2 separate regions of the Homo sapiens genome follow, and region 2 is linked to region 1. The links are contacts of gene promoters, found by promoter capture Hi-C in blood cells and fetal thymus (Javierre and others, 2016). All regions are on one chromosome and are shown on one strand. The core of a region is centred on a gene start or on the middle of the fragment in contact, and the rest is flanking DNA. Distances in the headings are between cores, read along the strand shown. Region 1 holds the start of LGALS1 (galectin 1). Region 2 holds the start of LOC124905115.

Region 1 (5,240 bases), core at 1,835-4,334:
AACCCAGCCCCGCCCCAGCCCACCCAGCCCCTGTCCCTGGTCCCCGGTTCCGGTCTGCAGCCCACCTCTGCAACACTTCCAGGCTGGAAGGGAAAGACAGCCTCCCGCTGCTCGGTCCCCCAGGCCCCGCCGTCCTTGCTGTTGCACACGATGGTGTTGGCGTCGCCGTGGGCGTTGAAGCGAGGGTTGAAGTGCAGGCACAGGTTGTTGCTGTCTTTGCCCAGGTTCAGCACGAAGCTGGGGGGTAACGGGTGGGCATGAGGCCACCTCGGCCAGCTCCAGCCCCACTGACCGACTAATCTGTCACTCAGTATCCCATGAACGCACCTTGCTGGAAGAACTCACTAACAGAGACAAGAAACCTGGATTCTAGCTCTGGCCATGCCACCTGCTCCTGCCCCTCTTCCCCTGTTTGCTCATCTGTACAATGGGGGCTGCACAGGAGGGCTCGCTTGATTCTTGAAGTCATTAGCATCCTAGCCCGTTTGGTCAAGGTCAGTGACTCCCTCCAGATGGTGACCTCCCGTCCTGTCTTGTACATCTCTGTATTCCCGGTGCCCAGCACAAGTGGGGCACACCAGAAAAAGATGCTTAGTAATTATGGGGCGAATTAACAAATAATAATAATAATACTCCCGGGCACGGTGGCTCATGCCTGTAACCCCAGCACTTTGGGAGGCCGAGGCGAGCGGGCAGATCATGAGGTCAGGAGTTCGAGACCAGCCTGGCCAACATGGTGAAACCCCGTCTCTACTAAAAGTACATAAATTAGCTGGGCGTTGTGGTGGGCCCCTGTAATCCCGGCTACTCAGGAGGCTGAAGCCGGAGAATCGTTTGAACCCGGGAGGCGGAGGTTGTGGTGAGCCGAGATCACGCCATTGCACTCCAGCCTGGGCGACAGGGTGAGACTGTGTCTCAAAAAATAAATAAATAAAATAATAAAATAATAAATAAATAAATAAAATAATAAATACATTTGTTGAGTGGTGATAATAGCAATACCTGCCTCTGAGGGTTTGGTTGAAATGAAATTAGTGCATGAGAAGTGTGCGGCTCTTAACAATATCAGCTGATCCTCATCCTCCTCACTGTCACTGCGCCAGCCGCATCTCACTTCCTCCACACAACCACCTCCCCCCTTGTTTTTCTAACAAACTGAGGCTAGGTGAGGTTGGTTGACTGGTCCAAGGTCACCTAACTGCCGAGAAAATAAGGCAGCCGTCTGAGTGAATGAGAAGTGAAGGAAGAAGGACCGGACTGAGCCAGTGAATGAATGAATGACCAGACGCAGGAAGGAGGGACTCAGGGGGAAGGCGGCGGTGACGCCCGCCCCACTCCTCTCCCCGCCCTCCCCAGCGACAGGTCCCGCCCAGACCGGAAAGGGGTGGGGGCGGGGGAGTCAAGGTATTACAGATGACGAGGCTGCAGCTGGTTTAGTTTAAGAGGCTACAGCAGGGAGGGAGCGGGGGAGGGGGCGGCAACGGTGGGGGCGCCCAGACCCTGCGGGGGAAGTGAGTCACCCAGAAAACGCAGCATCGGCGGCTGGCCGTTAACCCGCTCCCGGCCAGGGAGGAGATGTGGGCTTGGCCGGCCACGCCCTCCCTGCTGGACCAAGCCCGTCCCTGCCGCCCACCACCCCGACTTCACTTCTCACCTCTTAGCGTCAGGAGCCACCTCGCCTCGCACTCGAAGGCACTCTCCAGGTTTGAGATTCAGGTTGCTGGCGACCAGACCCTGCACAGACAAGCCCCGGCCCAGCCGGGTTAGAGGACAAGGCCTCCACTGCTCGAAGTGTCCGGGGGTGGCTGGGGGTGGGAGTGGGGTTGTTCCCGCCCGGCATCCTCTGACCAAGCCAAGGGGAAGCCTGGGGAAAGGATTGAGCTGTAATTTCCAGCCTCCGATTGTCTATGTGGTCCTGGGAAAGTCCCTATTCCCACCGGGGTTGGCTTCAGTCTGTAACGTGAAGGTTCTAGAAGACAGGCTCTAGAAGATTTTGCAGATTGGCTTGGGAATTTTGGACTCAAGAGTGACTTGGGAGATGGGGTGCTCTGTCCCATCGCAGATGGAGAGGATCAGGCTGGGGAGGGGCCGACACTTGGCCCACCGTCACACTGAATGGAGGGGCCGGCCCCTCTGCTGGAGAGGAAGTGGCTAGGGGCGGGCGACCCCACTATTCTCCTTCAAGCCCCTCTCTGCAAAGAGGCCCAGGGGCTAGAGAGGAGACCCTGAAAAACACGGCCTCTCTGCATTAGGGAGAATAGCCCTGCAGTCGGGCTGTGGCTGGGCTGGCTCAGGGTTAACAAGATTGAGCAAACTGCTGGGCACTGCTGTTCCCTGGCACCCCGAGTGGGTGGGCAAGAGTTAACTGGTTTGAGTGGTTTCTTCTGCCAGAAACTTGAACCCTTTCCCTGGGGCCCGAGGAAGATTCTCACCTCCCTGCCACCCCAACCTCCCAGCTTGGGGGTGGTGGAAGGGAATTTCCCCCGCCCCCCCCGCCACCAGCCTGGACACAACCACCCTCCACCCCCGACCTAGAAGGGCCCATCCTGGGCAGCTTGTCTCGGGTCCTGGCAACTTTTCAGCGTTCTCTGGAGCAGAGGGTAACTCTGCCCTGGCCTGGTGACCGGGACAGCTGCAGGGGGGAGGGGACAGGAGGCTCTTTGGGGTGGAGGAGGGGGAAAGGGATAGTGGCCTGGGTGTCCCCCAGTTGGCCACACCCTTCCCACGCTCACTTCTCAGAGAGCTGCAGAATGTCAACCCTGGGCAGAAATAACTGTGCTTTCAGACCCTGGAGGAATCCAGACAATTATCAATGCAGAGAAGGCCTTGAGGGACCATGGCGCCCACCCCCATTTTACAGATGTGGCCACTGAGGTCCAGAAAAGAGAAGGCACTGGTTCCAGGCCACACAGCTGGGGCTAGAATCTGCTCCCGATCTGCCCAGCTCTCCTCTGGCCATCAGTTCCTGCCCTATCCCCTGGACCTTGGGGGGGGGTCCCCACACTCACACAAGCCATGATTGAGTCCAGGAGGATGTTCCCGGGCAGGCGCACCAGCTGTCAGAAGACTCCACCCGAGAGAGATGGGCCCCCGGACGCTCCCACCCTTTTAACTGGACCGGACCGGGTGAGCCCCGCCCCCTGAAAGTTCAGCCAATTGCAAGTCAGGATAGGGCTGGGGGCCACTGGGGGCGGAGTCCGTGGAATTTTGAAGCCAGTTTTGGAGCAGAGGTGACCAATCAGAGTGGCGAGCTGCTGCCCCCCCTCACCCCGCCGCCCCCGGCCAGAGTCCAAGCTCCACCTCCTATTCTCCTTCATCCCTCTCCACCTCCCCACCAAAATTGTGCTGTGGCAGAGATTGGGGGAAGCCAGTGGAAAATAGTTTGATGATGAGCTAGGCCCACAAGTTGGCGGGAAGGGGCCTGTGGCCAGCAGGCTGGGCTCAGGGGGTGCCCAGAGAAGATGGCTGAGGAGGTGCAGGGTCCTTCAGGGAATCAGAGCTGGGGGAGACCAGGCCACTCCCGGGCAGGGACCAGGGCGTGGCTCCTGCTGCGTGCGCGTCTGCAGAGGGCCACTGACTTAACCACAGGCCCTGGCCCCACCCGGGCCTTCCCCGGAAGCAAGGACTGCGGCTGCTGCAGCGCTCTCTCGCTGGCTCCTCGGGAAGGCTAAAGAAAGGCTGGGCCGGGCGCCAAGCCTGAGGCTGCAGGGCTTGGCTAAGGCCTCGGGCTTGGCCGCGTTCAGGGGCAGGCAGGGGATAGTCAAAGCGCCCTGGCCTGACAGCCTCAGGCCTGAGAGTGTCAAGCTTAGGAGATGGCCCAGGGTGGTCCAGACCAGGAGGGGGTGGGGTCCTGGCTCTGTGCACCCTGTCCTTTCTCTTTTTTATTTTTATTTATTTATATATTTATTTTTGAGATGGAGTCTCGCTCTGTCGCCCAGGCTGGAGTGCAGTGGCGTGATCTCAGCTCACTGCAACCTCTGCCTCCCAGGTTCAACTGATTCTCCTGCCTCAGCCTCCCGAGTAGCTGGGACTACAGGCCCCCACCACCACACCCGGCTAATTTATGTACTTTTAGTAGAGACGGGGTTTCACCACGTTGGCCAGGCTGGTCTCAAACTCCTGACCTCAGTTGATCCACCCGCCTCAGCCTCCCAAAGTAATGGGATTACAGGTGTGAGCCACCATGCCTGGCCACCCTGTCTGCTCTCTTAACATCTCCTCTGAGGCCCGGCACAGCCCTCCCTTCCCTGAGTGTTCAGCAGGTATTTTACTGAGCACCTACTATGTACCTGGCCCTGGGCTCTGAGGATTCAAAGCTGAACCCCTCCCAGTCCCCACTCTCAAGGAGCGCATAGTTGGGGTGGAATCTGACCACAACCACGTTAAGAAGTAGATGATGGGCTGGGCGCAGTGGCTCACGCCGGTAATCCCAGCTCTTTAGGAAGCCGAGGCGGGCGGATCACCTAAGGTTAGGAGTTCGAGACTAGCCTGACCAACACGGAGAAACCCCATCTCTACTAAAAATACAAAATTAGCTGGGCATGGTGGCATATGCCTGTAATCCCTGCTACTCCTGAGGCTGAGGCAGGAGAATCGCTTGAACCCAGGAGGCAGAGGTTGCAGTGATCCGAGATCAGTCTATTGCACTCCAGCCTGGGCAATAAGAGTGAAACTCAGTCTCAATTAAAAAAAATAAAAAATAAAAATAAAAATAAAAAGAAGTAGATGATGATGGCTGTAAGGGAAGCCATGAGAAAGTGCTATGGTGGGCTGGCGGCTGCATGAGTAAAGGAGGTGGGTCGTGAAGGGTAGGCGGAGAAGTGCCTGGCTTTCCACCATGGGCAGAAGCTCCAGAATGAGAAGGCCAGGGCTGGAGAACAGTGTTCCGGGCATGTGGGGGAAAAACGGGGATGAGGCTGGGAAGCCAACAGGACCTGGACCATGGAGGGCCTCATGGGCTGGGCACAGGGCTTGGACATTGTTGTATGGGAGGAGGCTGGGGAGCCAGGGCTAGAGGGAGGGTGAGTACTGAGGCCAGATTTGGGCTCTAGGGAAGATCACTGTGGCAGAGAATTGAGGGTGGGTGGGAGGGGTGCTCACCTTACACTCAGGAACCTGGTGGAGGAAGGGGCGTGGGGAGCACTGGGCAAAATGAGGGGCATGCTGGGGGGTTGTCACGGGGACCTCCTTCTCCACCTGGCCGTCCCCCTTCTGAAACTGCTGGCACCAAAGAGGGACGA
Region 2 (4,598 bases), core at 1,496-3,995, 71 kb before region 1:
CCTCGGGCTGGCGGGACTCACTCAAAAAGGCTTGGTATCCCAGGCTTGCTTAACAGTTCCAGGGACGGCTCCAGGTGGCTTGCTTTATTTTTGAGACAGAGTCTCTGCTGCCCAGGCTGGAGTGCAATGGCGCCATCTCGGCTTACTGCAACCTCCACCTCCCGGGTTGAAGCGTTTCTCCTGCCTCAGCCTCCCAAATACCTGAGATTACAAGCACCCACCACCATGTCCAGCAAATTTTTTTATTTTTAGTAGAGATGGGATTTCACCATGCTGGCCAGGCTGGTCTCGAACTCCTGACCTCAAGTGATCCATCCACCTCAGCCTCCCAAAATGCTGGGATTACAGGCACACATAAGCCACTACACCCGGTCTCCAGGTGGCTTTAAAACAAAGTCCAGCTGCCTCAGGATGGCAGGGAAGCCTCATCACACTCTTCCAGCCTGGCCTCCCCTTGCTGAGGGGCCCCTGTTTATACCACTGCATATTCCTTGCCGATCACAACACACCAGGACTCCGGGCCCTTCATATGTGCCATGTCCTTGGCCTGAAACACTATGCTTCCTCCTCCTCCGATGACTAGGCAAGCGGCTACTCAGGCCTTAAGACCCAGCTTAATGGCCACCTCTGAGGTCCCTTCACAGTTCATGCCACTCACCGCACCACCAGCCGCCCCCGTCCTGCCCTCCCATGGCCCCTCTCAGAGGCCTCTGTTGCATCCGTGACTATCTTGAGGCCCTTTACTTATCCTTCACAGGCTAGATTAGATGCAACTCACAGTCAGGGACATACACTGTTTACCTGCCAGGACCCAGCACAGATAGGGGCTCAGGGAGTGTTTGCAGAAAAAAAAATTTTTTTTTAAAGTTATCAGGCACTGTTCTAGGCCAGGAAATTAGCTGTGACCAAGAGCTGTGGCCCCTGCCCTGGTGGACTGTAGGAAAGAGACAGTAAACAAGGGACCAAATATAATTTGATGCCCAGCAGGCGAGGGGGAAGGCTGATCCGGGAGCAAAGCTGCACCCAGGCAAAGGCAAAAGGGGTGGAAGAGAATCCCAACTCCCTGAAGCCCCGGAGCCTCACACACTCACACACCTGTGCCACTTGCTCTGTATGGATCCCTGATTCAGGGCACGGGGGCCAGGGGAGGAGGGTGTGAGGTGGGTACAGGAGGAGCACCAGCTGAGAGCAGGCTGAGGTCTGCATGGCAGCCAGGATGAACTCAATGAACACTATTAATGGTGATCATAGCCTCCTCTCTGCTCTAAAAGCTTTCATGGCTCTCTATTGCCCCTGTCCAAGCCCTAGCAGTGAGGCCCTCCTCCCCAGACCCCTTCCCTACGCTCTTGCTACTTCTCAAACATGACCACCCGTTTCTGTCCACACTGCTGTCTCCTCGCTAGTCCATCTCCACCTGACAAGGCCCTATAATCACAGGAGGACACCTCCCTCAGGAAGGCTGCTGCCACCAGCAGGGATGTGCTGTCCATCTTCCAAGCACCCCACACGCTGCTTCCGGCAGCCTTACCCTTGCTCAGCACGTGCTGCCCCCAGGACAGGCAACTGTGAAAGAAAGCTGGAACGGACCTGGATACAAATTCTGGCTTAGCCTGGGACTCACTGAGTTACCTGGGGCATGACACTTCACCTCGCCACACCTTGGTTTCCTCATCTGTTTGATTAAGATGTTACTACCAACCTTCAAGGATCAAATCTGGTAACGTGAAAGCACCCGGCTGAGGGCCGGGCAGGCACCCGGTGGGCAAGGCAACTTCTCTCCTCCTGGCCCCAGGACACTGACTCAGCTCCTCCCCCCACATCCCTTCTGCTCCTGACAGAAAAGGGGAGGCTGCTGACGACAGGAAGGGCCAGCAGGGAGGTGGCAGGATGTCCAGGAGGACGCCGAGGAAGTCCAGGCCATCACACTCACAGGGCAGGGGCTAGGCGTGCCACGCCCCCCAGCAGCCCAGCCCGCCCCCAGCAGCCCACCCACTCCTCCGCAGGGTCTCCACTCCCCTGAAAGAGGCCTACTGCCGCCTGTGCACACACACACCCTGCTCATCCTCCCCCAGGAGGGCCACTGGGCTGTCAGAGCCTCCCTGAAGCACTAGCCAGAAACCAAAAGCAGCCCCACCCCTCCCTTCCCGAACATCACGGTCAGTGGGCCAGAAGGACAGGGAAAGGAGCTACTCCTTCTCTTATACTTGGGGTGACCTCGGGCAACTCACCAGCGCCCCTCCCCAAGCCTCAGTTTATCTGGCTGTGAAGTGGGGAGTCCAGCGAACCCAGCTGTGAGGCTCAATATGCTAACTATGGCACAGGTAATTGATGGGGCTTGGGTACAGCTCACCCCCATGAGAAAGGCAAACCCCTGCCATCATGCCCCCTACTCAGACTCGCAGGCTTGTCCCAAGGCCCCAGGACCGCTGCAAAGTGCAAGCCCAGGAAGACGTGGTATCCCGCTGCTTCAGACGTCCCGGGACTGCCTCCCGGGCTGTGGGTGGGGCGGTCCGGCCACTTCTCGCCCACCCGACCTCGGGCCAGCGGCCACACGGAGGGCTGGCTTGCCCAGGCCCGGGTCAGCGCGACCCATCCGCACCCACGAGCGCCCCTCCCCAGCCCAGGCCCACCTCCGCTCCTCCCTGGGGCCCCTGGCCGCCTTGGGGAATCGGGTCTTCGTCTAGGGGGCTGGAGGGGAGGTGGGAAAGGGTCGCCCCGAATCCACCCGTGACTGGTGCCGCAAGTGTGAGGAGGGGGCGCCCGAGACGGGTCGTTCCGTCCCCTCAGGGTCGCCTGGGCTCCCGGGGGCGAGTGGGCGAGGGAAGGCGAGGAGGAGCCTGCGGGAAGGGTGAGGCCGGTCTGGCCGAAAGCGCTTCGGAGGTGGCCCCGTCTTCCGGCCCAGCCCTCCTCTCGCCTTCGGGAAATGAGGAGGGGGCTGCCCCGGAGGGGAGAGGCTGGGCTCTGCCTCGGGTCGTCGCCCTTCTCCCGGCCTCGGGCGCGGGCGGCTGACTGGGGCACTCACCGTCATGGCGGCGCCCCAGGGCGGCGGGAGCAGGAGGCAGGAACGTGGACGCGGCTCTCGGGCCGGGCTCCGCGGCGCGGGAACCCCGCCGCCGCCGCCGCCGCCGCCCCTCTCGGCCGCCCGCCGCCGCGCCTCCGGCCCTTCCTTTCCCCGACGCTGCCCCGGCCCCTTCCATCCGCCCATAAAACTTTTTTTTTTTTTTTTTCAAACTTCCTGGGAGGACCCGAGCGGGCCAATGGGTGGCGGGGAAGCCGAGACAAACAGCGGCGGGGGCCGCGGCGGGCCAATGGAAGCGCGAGACGGGCCGGGGGCGGGACCTGCCGCAACGGGACGGGCGCGCTAGGGCGGCGGGGCGGCGGGACGGCGGGACGGCGGGGTGGGCGGATGGGGCCGCAGGGAAGGGAGGGCGGTGGCGGCCGGAGGGCGGGCGGGCCCGGGCCGCGGGCGCGCTGGGAGGAAGGAAGGGCCCAGGGTGCAGGTGACTCCGGCAATGGCGCGGGGGCGGAGGATGCGGGCGGCCGGGCGTGGGCACGACTCGCCCAGGCTGCGCTTCCCGACCCGGCCCCGGAGCGATGGGTCCGCTAGGGCTCGGCGCCGTGATTTGGCGGGGACCGGGGCAAAGCACCCAGTACTAACGACTCAGCGGGTCCCACTCGCCAAGAGTCGATTTTCGTCCTCACCACAGACTTGGGAGGGAGGTCTTATTTTGCTAATGAGAAAACGGAGGCTCAGAGGGGTGAGCCGATTTGCCCGAGGTCACACAGGAAGAGGCGGAATTCCTAGCGAGTAAGCTGGACACAAAGTGAGTTCTTGGATGGCAGGGTCTCTCCCAAATGCCCACTCCTCACAAATGGGTCTTTTTTGGTTTGGGGTTTTTCAGGTGTGGGCGTGCACCCGTTGCTCAGGTTCCCAGAACGCTGGGCCGTTTGTTAGATGCTCTTTTCCTGCAGGTGAGTAGGGACCGTGGTGGAATTGGTTGCTAAATGCACTAGGAAGTTCGTGTGGCACGGGGATTCCAGCCTAGTGTTACCTTAAGCAAGGCACCTCTCGGTGCTCAATTTCACTCTCTGTAAAATGGGGTAATGCTGTTACCTCATGAGGTTGCTGGAAGGATTAAGTGTTAATTCAAGTAAGGCACCTAGGACAACCTCTTTATCCCTCATTAGCTATCCTTAGGCAAGGAGGCAGGGAAGCTTGGAATAATTGGCATTTCAATTATTCTGTCATCTTGATTTGGGGTTCAAAAATTATTGCCCTTGCCGGGCGCGGTGGTTCAGGTCTGTAATCCCAACACTTTGGGAGGCTGAGGTGGGTGGATCATTGAGATCAGGAGTTCAAGAGCAGACTGGCCAACATGGTGAAACCCCGTCTCTACTAAAAATACAAAAATTAGCCGGGCGTGGTGTCAGGCGCCTGTAATCCAGCTATGTAAAAGGCTGAGGCAGGAGAATCGCTTGAACCCGGGAGGCAGAGGTTACAGTGAGCAGAGATTGTGCCACTGCACTCCACCTTGGGAGACGGAGCGAGACTCCCTCTCAAAAAAAAAAATTATTGCTTTTATAATTACTGTTCCCAT

What was found. Contacts are between HindIII fragments. The CHiCAGO score rates a contact against its expected background, and 5 or more counts as called.
Region 2: a contact is called between a fragment that was not itself captured here and the fragment with the promoter of LGALS1 in region 1, in 2 of 17 cell types (endothelial precursors and M0 macrophages). The highest score is 5.5, in endothelial precursors.

Annotation. Positions count from the first base shown.
Region 1 is chr22:37,673,480-37,678,719 of GRCh38, reverse strand. LGALS1 (galectin 1) reads right to left here and starts at 3,084. Exons shown (of 4, transcript NM_002305.4): 1 at 3,009-3,084; 2 at 1,655-1,734; 3 at 66-237. The coding sequence starts at 3,017. RefSeq lists an enhancer at 458-1,268 and silencers at 1,112-1,621, 3,142-3,281. The HindIII fragment of the contact is 13,088 bases long and covers 1-3,806 here.
Region 2 is chr22:37,744,845-37,749,442 of GRCh38, reverse strand. The region is part of intron 11 of TRIOBP (TRIO and F-actin binding protein); the gene reads right to left. It overlaps LOC124905115, which reads left to right and starts at 2,144. Exons shown (of 3, transcript XM_047441691.1): 1 at 2,144-2,321. The coding sequence starts at 2,304. LOC102724378 (a long non-coding RNA gene) reads left to right here and starts at 3,499. Exons shown (of 3, transcript NR_160697.1): 1 at 3,499-3,824; 2 at 3,903-3,972. RefSeq lists silencers at 2,440-2,549, 2,770-2,999, 3,340-3,639. The HindIII fragment of the contact is 2,944 bases long and covers 1,274-4,217 here.